2 separate regions of the Homo sapiens genome follow, and region 2 is linked to region 1. The links are contacts of gene promoters, found by promoter capture Hi-C in blood cells and fetal thymus (Javierre and others, 2016). All regions are on one chromosome and are shown on one strand. The core of a region is centred on a gene start or on the middle of the fragment in contact, and the rest is flanking DNA. Distances in the headings are between cores, read along the strand shown.

Region 1 (4,848 bases), core at 2,016-4,515:
CACCGGACTTCTACTAAGTTATAATAGGACTAGTGGAAGTATACAAACTATGTTATTGGTCTAAAGTAATATAGAAATTAGATATAAGTATTTAGAGGCCAGGCGAGGTGGCTCATGCCTGTAATCCCAGCACTTTGGGAGGCCGAGGAGGGAGGATTGTTTGAACTCAGGAGTTCAAGACCAGCCTGGGAAACATGGAGAGAACCTGTCTCTAAAAAATTAGAGCTTGTATTTTAAGTGACTTCATTGTTTTGTTTTTTAAATTTCATTTCTTTTGTAATTCATTTTCACTGTATTCAAAAGTGTCCACAGGAGTGGGTGTGAGAATGGCCCTTTACCACTCAGAGTTTGAGCAGCACTAGCTAGAAAACTGTAGAGTCGCACAATAGTTCTCAAAATAGGGTTGGGGGTGGGGGAAGAAGTGAGTTTTTTTCTCTCCAAGGAGACATCTGGCAATGTCTTTAGACATTTTTGGTTGTTCTCACCAAGCTGAGTGCTACTGGCTTATAATGAGTACAAAGCCAGGAATGCTGCCAAACACTATAACGACAATAACAGCCCTCCCACCCCTAAGAATTATCTGGTCAAAATGTCAATAATGCCAAGGTTGACAAACTCTGGAATGGCATGTAAAAATTATCAAAAGAAATCTACAATGAGCCAGGTGCAGCGGATCATGCCTGTAATCCCAGCACTTTGGAAGAACAAGGCAGGAGGATCACTTAAGCCCAGGAATTCAAGACCAGCCTGGGCAACACAGTATGACCCCATCTCTACAGAAAAAAAAAAAATAGCCAAGTGCGGTGGTGGGTGCCTGTAGTCCCAGGTACTTGGGAGGCTGAGGCTGGAGGATCACTTGAGCTTGGGAGGTAGAAGCTGCAGTGAGCTGTGATTGCACCACTGCATTCCAGCCTGTGTTACAGAGTGAAACCCTGTCTCAAAAAAAAAAAAAAAGAAAGAAAGAAATCCTACAATCAGGCCGGGCGTGATGGCTCACGCCTGTAATCCCAGCACTTTGTTGTAATCCCAGCACTTTGGGAGGCCAAGGTGGGTGGATCACCTGAGGTAGGGATTCAAGATCAGCCTGACCAACATGGAGAAACCCCGTCTCTACCAAAAATACAAAATTAGCCGGGAGTGGTGGCACATGCCTGTAATCCCAGCTACTCAGGAGGCTGAGGCAGGAGATTCCTTGAACCCAGGAGGCGGAGGTTGCGGTGAGCCGAGATCGCGCCACTGCACTCCTCCACCCTGGGCAACAAGAGTGAAACTCTGTCTCAAAAAAAAAAAAAAAAAAAAAAAAAAAGAAATCCTACTATCAATGCAATCAACAAAATATGCTTCACCTGACAGAATGAAAGCAAACTGTTTGAAGAAATTAAAGAATTCATAACATATCACTTTTATACCCCATCAGGGAAAAATACTTGAGAAAAGGCTACAAGCAAACAACAAATGACCTCACAAGGTCATGTGCCACTTATTATCATTCCTATGTTTAAACACACAGAAACTGAGGATTAGAAGTATCTGGTCAAAGTGGTCGGGCGCGGTGGCTCACGCTTGTAATCCCAGCACTTTGGGAGGCCGAGGCGGGCAGATCACGAGGTCAGGAGATCGAGACCATCCTGGCTAACACGGTGAAACCCGGTCTCTACTGAAAAATACAAAAAATTAGCCAGGCGTGGTGGCGGGCACCTGTAGTCCCAGCTACTCCGGAGGCTGAGGCAGAAGGGCGTAAACCTGGAAAGTGGAGCTTGGAGTGAGCAGAGATCGTGCCACTGCAATCCAGCCTGGGCGACAGAGCGAGACTCTGTCTCAAAAAAAAAGTATCTGGTCAAAGTTACACAGCAAAATCTAACTTAACACATATATGCAAAAAAAAAAATTGTGCAATTCAATGCCACTTTCCCTTCTGGCAAACTAAGGACATGCTTAACATTCAGCAATAGGTTCACCCGACATTTGCTTAGCCCTAGATACTGTGCAAAGTACTTCCATATATATCCTTTCCTTGTACCCTTACAGCAATACTCTCAAAGAGTTAAAGTGTTCTTATCCCTGCTTTACAGATGATAAAACTGTATCTAAGAAAGATTAAGCTGCACGTATTCTCACAGTTAATTTGCTCTAAGTCTGACTGCATAGATGTTACTCCTTCTGCAACACGGGTAAAATCCACTTTCATTGTTTCAATTATCCACCATGTAAGTGCCTATGATTCCCCAATCGCATTTCTAATTTTAGTATTCATCCTGAGCCCCAAATCTATCCACAGCATTCAACAGTTCTCATCTCCCTTATAAGTCCTACGAACTCATCCAAAAAACGAACACATAATCCCATATCAAAACTTGTTCCTTCTCCTTTAATCCCTTTCATTTTTTTTCACTGATTAGTGAATGCATATTGTCCACTAAAACGCAGAAGATAGTCATTACACAAATAGCTGTGAAATACCACCTGACATAAATTCTCTATTCCAGTACCATCGGGTGCCACGAGAGCATATGATAGCGTCTGACATGATCAGAAAGACTGGGGAAGGCAACAGTAAGAAAACACTAGTCTGAGCAGAGGCCTTGTTCTGGGTGGGAGCATGGTTCTATTTATAGTGATGACTGACCGGCCAAAGGTTAGTAGGTTCGCTGCCTCTTCAGTGCATATTCCTATGAACAATCCATAAAGTCGCCTAATGAAGTGTTAGCACCATCGTTTTTAGGTGGGATGCAAACTTTCAATATTATGACTAATTTTTTCCCTCTTAATGGTACACGTTCTGCCTAAGTAGCCTAGACGCTCCCGTGCGCCCGGGGCGGGTAGGCCTGGCCGAAAATCTCTCCCGCGCGCCTGACCTTGGGTTGCCCCAGCCAGGCTGCGGGCCCGAGACCCCCGGGCCTCCCTGCCCCCCGCGCCGCCCCGATTTGCCCTCAGAGAGGGTATCGATCTTATTTCTGGGTCTACGGCAAACTCCAAGGTCTACAAACGTAGAGGTCAGCTGTGACCCCGGGCCAGGCCGTGAAGGTCCCCAGGACACAGAGCTGCTCTCTCCTCCTAGTAAAGGTGAGAGGCAGCCCAGGCCTCGTGAAAAAACCCAGAACTGGAGTCCCAAAAGGCCACGCTGATCTAGCTACCCTCCCAGTCACCTTGCACTCAGTCCCGAGCTGCCAAAGCCTCCGCCGCCACCACCTCCGCTCTACTTCCGGCCCTGGCTCCGCCCCCACACGCCTACCCGCCATCGCAATGCATTATGGGCCGCCGTTTCAGTCGGTCGACGCTCACCGGACAGGAAGCGTCTCGGAGACAGTCTGCGACCGGACGGGTCTAGGTGAGACAGAAGCCAAACAGGAGGAGGAAGTGGAGGGTAAGTGCTTCCGGGTCCCCTGGCACAGCCTCCGCCATCTTTTCTTCGCCTAATTTGACCCGTTCTTTTTCCCCTCCTTGAAACCTTGCTCTGTACGCATGCGCTCTTTGAGTGGCCTTTCCCCTAGTTCAAGCTCCCCTCCGAGTCAGCGTCCTGTTCGTTAGGGTTATCGAAGTGTATAAAGGTGCAGGGAAAGTGAGACTGTGTAAAACAAAGCGGATTGGGGCGTTGTGCTTCCTTGTACCTCGTGAGCCTCCGTTGCCTTGGGCGGTCGTTTTGCGCACCCTGCCGGGAGTTGTAGTCCTGGACCCGAAGGTGCCTGGGAGGCGGGAGGGGGGTTGGGGCTTCTCAGCGCCGATTCCGCGGGAAGGGCCCTGGGACCTCACACTTCTAGTCGCGGGAGCTGCAGGTCTTACCCGGAGAGACGCTGCACGTGGAGCCCTCGCCGCTGCCGTTCTCAGCCGGCTCTGGAGTGCGGGCGGGGGCGACAGGGCCGATTCCGGAGTGGGTGAGTGCGGCCGCCGGGGAGGAGGGGAGCGCGGGCCCTCGCGGGCCGGCCTCGTTCCGGGGCCTTTTCCCCCACAAGGGCCCCCCCGCGGCCGCCTCTGTGTTTTGTTTCCGCTGGTCCCCGGCGCTGTGACTCCCATTTCCGTTCGTGGAGACTTGAGGGAGCCGGGTGGGGAGGGGCGGGAGAGCTGTGCGGGGAGCGAAGGGGAGGGGCGGGGGGCGAGCGGCCTGGAGCCCGGGGGGACCGGGCACCGCCGGGACCCGTGCCGGACGGGTCGCCTGTCGCCGCTCCCTCCTTTCCGCGTCCCCTCCTCGCCCGTCCGCACTCCTCAGCAGTCTCAGCCTGCTCAGCTGGGATGTGGTCCTGACGCCCCCGAGATTTTAAGAGCAAAATGCAGACCCTGTCTCATCGCGGGACTCAGCGATTCACTCATTTCAAATCCGCTCTCTTTATAGAACAACACACACCAGAATCATTTATCAGCGTATATGGTAGCCATCTGGGTTTGTTTTTTTGTTTTTAAGCAAGGAAGTAAACCAAGGAGATAACAATGGGTTGTCTACTTGGAAATTTTTTTGTGTACTAGAAGACACGCTGTATGTGCGTGTTTGGATTTAGGGACCCCAGTTTGATCAGGTTAGCGGACCGAGAGGACAATGCCTAATATTGCATTGCAAGATGATTAGAAATTTAGAAATAAAATTCATTTCATAAGTAGTTTCCACTAATAGCAGTAGGTCTGACTCGTGAGAAGAGCAAAGATTTAGCAGGATTCACTTGAGCGAATTGTAGAACGAGGCGGTGATAACATTCTTCGGTAGTGTTATCTTGAACTTCAGAAGAAACCGCTCAACTCTTTAGCAACTGCTTGAGGGACTAGCCTGTCTCTCAGGGTTCCATCCAGGCTTTCCAAGCTTCTTTATTTTTAGACATACAGTGACGCTGAGTGGACTTCAAGTCAATTTTACCTGAATTG
Region 2 (4,967 bases), core at 242-2,741, 1.1 Mb after region 1:
CCTTCCTCCCCACCGCCCGGTTGCGGTAACTCAGTTACCGCGCTGGGCTGCGGTTCCCAGGAGGGAGGGTTCGGTTGGAGAACGCAGTCCCTTCTTCAACATTTCCCTATCCTGGAGCTGCCCTGGGTCTCCTTCCCTCCTCCCTCAGTTCCCTCTTCCCCAATCTAGGAGATGAGCTAGGGCTACACTTTCTAGAAAAATACCTCACCCCACTTCTCCACCTTCCCAGCCTGCCAGGAGCTCCTTAGCCGCCGCCTGCTCTCTCTTCGCCCCAGCTTTTCTAGGGAAAGCTTGGCCCTGCGCTTCCCCCAGAAAGCATGCCTGGGTGAGGGGCCAGGTGACACTTCCTACGATCTGGATTTTAAAATATGTTTGCTTATGCCTTCACCCTCCACCAACCCCCACCCCGCACGCCACCTCTTCACCAGAGACGACTTTGTGAGGGCCCGGTTTCACATTTCTGGAATGGGTGATCTGGGACGCGGCTCAATTCCCTAGAGCATAAGGAGGGAATTGCGCTTTTTCTTCTTCATTCGAGAAATGATCGGCTCCCGCCAGTCTGCGTGCTTTCACTCAACAGCAGCTGCAAGCCCTAGGCCAGCGTCGCAGAAACGGCCAGGAACCCCACTTTCCTACCCGGGGGCCAGCAGCGATCGCTGGGGCTAGCAAGCGTGCAGAGGGGGAAAGAAGGAAATCGGCTTCCTTCCCGGACCCCTCCTTCCTCTTCCTACCAGGAAGGGAAAAGGCTATATCCGCGTTACGAAAGCGAGGAGAGGTCCACCAACAGGTCCTTAGGAAAAAAAACTGAGTGGCTCTTCTCTCCAAAAAGTGGGAGGGGCTCAAGGACCCAGAGGAAGGACGTGTTTCACAGGCGGAAAGCCGCGGGGACAATGGCGAGAGCGACCGCCCTAGCCCCGGGCGGACCCGCAACCCTCACACTCGCGCGCCCCCGCGTTAGTGCTCGAACTGGTCTCCGCCTTTCCGCCCCACTCCCGTCCGGTCTCTTGGTTGGCTCCAAGTAGATCTGGGTCCTTTCCTCGCTCCTCCCCAGATCTTCCCCACTTCAGTTGGCCCCAGCCAGAAGCGTCCCTTCTAGTTCTCCCACACGTCCCTCTTACAAGCTTTCTTTTCCGGATGCTTTCCAACTTCTTTTTTCCTAGCGAGATTGCTTACTTGAAAAACAAAAACAAAAACATTGCTTTCCACTCATCAGGAAAAATCAAATGAGCAAGAATGGCAGAGAGAAGCAACTCAGCTTACTTCTGAAGGGCTTAGTAACGACCTCTAGTCCCTACACATTTAGGAGTGGGTGGTTTCGTAGATTTAATTTTGGTTTCCTAAAATCACCCTCATCGTTGAACGTTGAATAATCAACCAAGGCCTTAGATATATTTTGACAGCGCTCGATTAACATTCTGATAGTGTTTCTGCCTACCTCTTTTCACTGAGTCTCTCCTTTGCAGCCCTCGCTGTCTCTCCCCCCCTCCCGCCGTTGCATTTCTCCTTCAAACTCAACATTGACATCCGCACACCTGAGTGTGTGATTCCTTTCTGCATTGTCAAGCATTGTCCAGCCTACCTCCTTCTCTTCGACTTCGAACTACGAGGATTATTCCTTCCTGTTTCTCTGTTTCCCAAGCGTCTTTTCCCAAACATCTGATCATTCCTACTTCCCAGTTTGGTTTTCAGACTTTTTTTTTTAACATTGTTATCTTCTATTACAGTAATTTTTTGACGGTCCATTTTCTATGATTTCATTTCATTTTACTGGTTCTTTCTAGCTAGAAAAAAGGCAAGATACTTGAGAGAACATATGAGGAAAGTCATGTTAGACTTTCAAGATATTGACCGCGGGATCACAAAAGCTTGAAGGCAAAGCCATCCGTACATTTTCAACCTCTTGCTTAGAAAAGGGCTCAGAAGATAATATATGGTGACAACAGTTACAGCCTCAGAGTGGCTTTGAGATGGAGATTTGAGATGGAGATTTTGGACACTCATAATCTCCATCTCAAGGAGAGGTGGCCCAGAGGCTGAATGAAGATGAGTGAAGGTAGATGTGATTCCCTTAAATTGGGGCAAAAAGGGACAAAAACAGCAGAAAATCTGTATCTTTAAAGACATATGTAATGTATTTCAGTCTATCAACTTCTCTACATAAACTTTAGCTTTTAAAAATATGTTAACGTAAGTTTGACCTTTAGTGTGTTTCTACCTGCAGGGTATTCTTATTGGAGGTTTGTTTAAAAGCATACATTTCTGATCTTGAATGGGTTACTACAAATCCATTATAATTGTTTCATATTTCATGTTGCAGATACAAGTAGGGTTGAAAAAACAGTGAGTTAAAGGCAAAAGGATGGCCGGGAACATGGCTTTTTTATTCTCTGGGTTTCTATCCAGATTTCTGTTCTTTTGCATAATGACTCCAATCTGTTGTGCACCTGTAGTTCTGGGAAATGATTCTTTTTTAATCGCTTCAACAGAGACATGGATGTTGGAGTTGCCAACTACTAAGCTGAAAAACTCCATCTATGCTCAGAAGAACATTTAATCCACTTACTTTTTCTCTTTTATTTAAAGATTAGCACTCATCAGGCATTTGTGGTAATATGCAAATATATACATAGGACATATATGTATATTTATAAGCAAAATGTGAATTGGAAAAACATTTGAATGTAGAAACAAGACCACAGGAGTAAATTTGTACAAGGCACTAGTAAAAGTGACATGTAATATGGGGTTCTTGTAGTGAGTTTCATAATCCAATTTTTGCTCCTTGATTTGAATGGGCACCCAAAATAACACATGCTATCCTAATCCCTACTCCCCATATTTTGGGTTTTATTTTTATAGAATACATATGGGCTTATATAAACATTAATCTCAACATGTTCTAATTTACATATGTAAGCTAATTTTTATTTCTAGAGATAACAGAACAAAACTCAAAACATTTGACATAAAATTATTGGAACAATTAACAGTTTGACCTATTAAACACATTATTGTCCTCTATGAACAGAGGGACTGTCTGAAAAAAAGAACAAGTTGTCTGCATTTTAAAGTGAGAGATAAGCATCAAGGTGTCAATTTCTATTTACACCTTATGTGTTCTTATTTGTTTCACAGATTCATATGTTATAGACACAATATTCTATTCACAATTTTCACGACGTCTATACCAAAGTAAGTATTCAACAAGTAGCCATGAAATGAGGAAATCTGGTAATATACATGAGCTATTAGAATTGTTTTAATGTAAACATTGTCTAGAGAAACAACTAATGTGCATATTTCATAACCGGGAAATGCTTTTTATTCACATTTTAGTACCATAAGATTGACTAATTAGAAATAGGGAAGCTGTTTGGTATTAGTCCTACTTTTGGGAACATATGGTCTAAAGTAATATTGGACAAATGGATATTTTAATTGATCACAAATGAGAAAGTAGTTAGAAAACTTCTAGTTTAAACAGGTTATATACCCAGAAGTATTGCAAATATTGGAGACAGAAAAATTATTGTAGCTTGCATTTAGACTCAAAATTGATATTCCCTCCACATCATGCCCTCACAGAACTCAGAGGAGTATGATCTGCCAGATCGACTCCCTTTGTGTAACTGATGCAGAAATGAGACTCAAAAGGGTTAAGTAGTTTTCCCAAGATGTCATAGCGAGAGTCAAACTGGGGGCTTAGAAATGACTCTGACTCATAACTTTTAATCAACTGTTTTGACATTTTAACCTATCTAATTGTGTAGGAGGTAATTATATTGTCAGACTTTGGAATGATGTTGTTTCCAGTAAAGTTTTGTTTTAATTATAAATAGGAATTTTCCAGCAATAAAAAATTTCCACCTTAAAAGATTCTCAGACTTTAGTACATCTTTCTCCAAACACAAGGTGGCGATGGTCTACAACAAATGATGTGCGACTTGGTGTTTTTTTTTTTTTTTTCTTTCCTTTCCTTTTTTATTCTTAATAGTTCAAGTTAAGAATTTGCAAAAGTTTCACATCTTCTCAATCATGTTTAATAAATTCTAATTAAATATTCTCCTACCTCCTAGTATTATGGAAAATATTTTAAAAATATTACAATGTTAAATGAATTTATTCTTGAGGGCATAATAAAATGCGTTTTTAAATCAACTACTTTTTAATTATGTGTTTGTATTACCATAAACAAAAATCCAATTAAACTTTAAAGAAAGAAAACTGCCTCTGACAAAATAATACTGTGGACCGCTTTTATTCATTACATTTGAGAACTTCTTGTCATTCAAATGAAAAGATTAAGTACATTTGCAATCCACTAAAACAGATTAAAAACTCATTCATTTATTCAATAGATATTAAGTACATACAGTATGTTTAGTATACATTAATACTTGACAATCAATACTGGTTAACTGGTTTCCCTGGTTTAGAAATTTTCCTTAGCAACAACGTAAGGCTTAAAATGAAAAAAGAAAAGTGAGAAAATGTTCTACCACCAGGTGGTGACAAAAGATAAAATTTAAAATCGCTCTTAATGAGCACATACTTCATGTAATTCTTGAATACTGCAAATATAAGTGACTTCCGAATGTCATGTGAATTTAAAATCATATTCTAGGAATATTTTATTAATTAAAGCAAATTAATATTAACATATTATCTCTAGTTTAATAAGTGCTGGAATTGGAAGTGGACAGTTTTAGTCAGCAGGCGGCACTTGAGACCATGGAATAAGATATTTTAAACTATTTCACTACTGCTTTTTTTCCCCACCCGGCTTATAATTATTGATTGGCTGATTGAGATAGGAGCTGGTCACCTCCCTACACTTCCACTAGCAGGGATTTAATCAGAGGCTGAAAATCAATTGTCCTTTGAAAGTGATTTTTGCTAAAGATCAAGAGCAATATTTGGTTATATCTCAGCCTCTATCCTACAATATTTATCATTTTATAATGCTC

What was found. The method cuts DNA at HindIII sites, captures the fragments that hold promoters and counts their contacts. A CHiCAGO score of 5 or more calls a contact.
Region 2: a fragment that was not itself captured here is called in contact with the fragment with the promoter of GABPA in region 1 in 1 of 17 cell types (fetal thymus); the score reaches 5.0 in fetal thymus.

Annotation. Positions count from the first base shown.
Region 1 is chr21:25,731,707-25,736,554 of GRCh38, forward strand. GABPA (GA binding protein transcription factor subunit alpha) reads left to right here and starts at 3,266. Exons shown (of 10, transcript NM_002040.4): 1 at 3,266-3,872. ATP5PF (ATP synthase peripheral stalk subunit F6) reads right to left here and starts at 3,198. Exons shown (of 4, transcript NM_001003703.2): 1 at 3,147-3,198. RefSeq lists enhancers at 490-1,327, 2,620-2,699, 3,018-3,673, 3,100-3,209, 3,230-3,349 and silencers at 2,810-2,909, 3,850-3,989, 4,050-4,259. The HindIII fragment of the contact is 6,464 bases long and covers 1-4,784 here.
Region 2 is chr21:26,845,715-26,850,681 of GRCh38, forward strand. No RefSeq gene overlaps it. Among named protein-coding and RNA genes, the nearest start is that of ADAMTS1, 2.8 kb to the left of the region's middle. RefSeq lists enhancers at 1-479, 480-1,079. The HindIII fragment of the contact is 744 bases long and covers 1,120-1,863 here.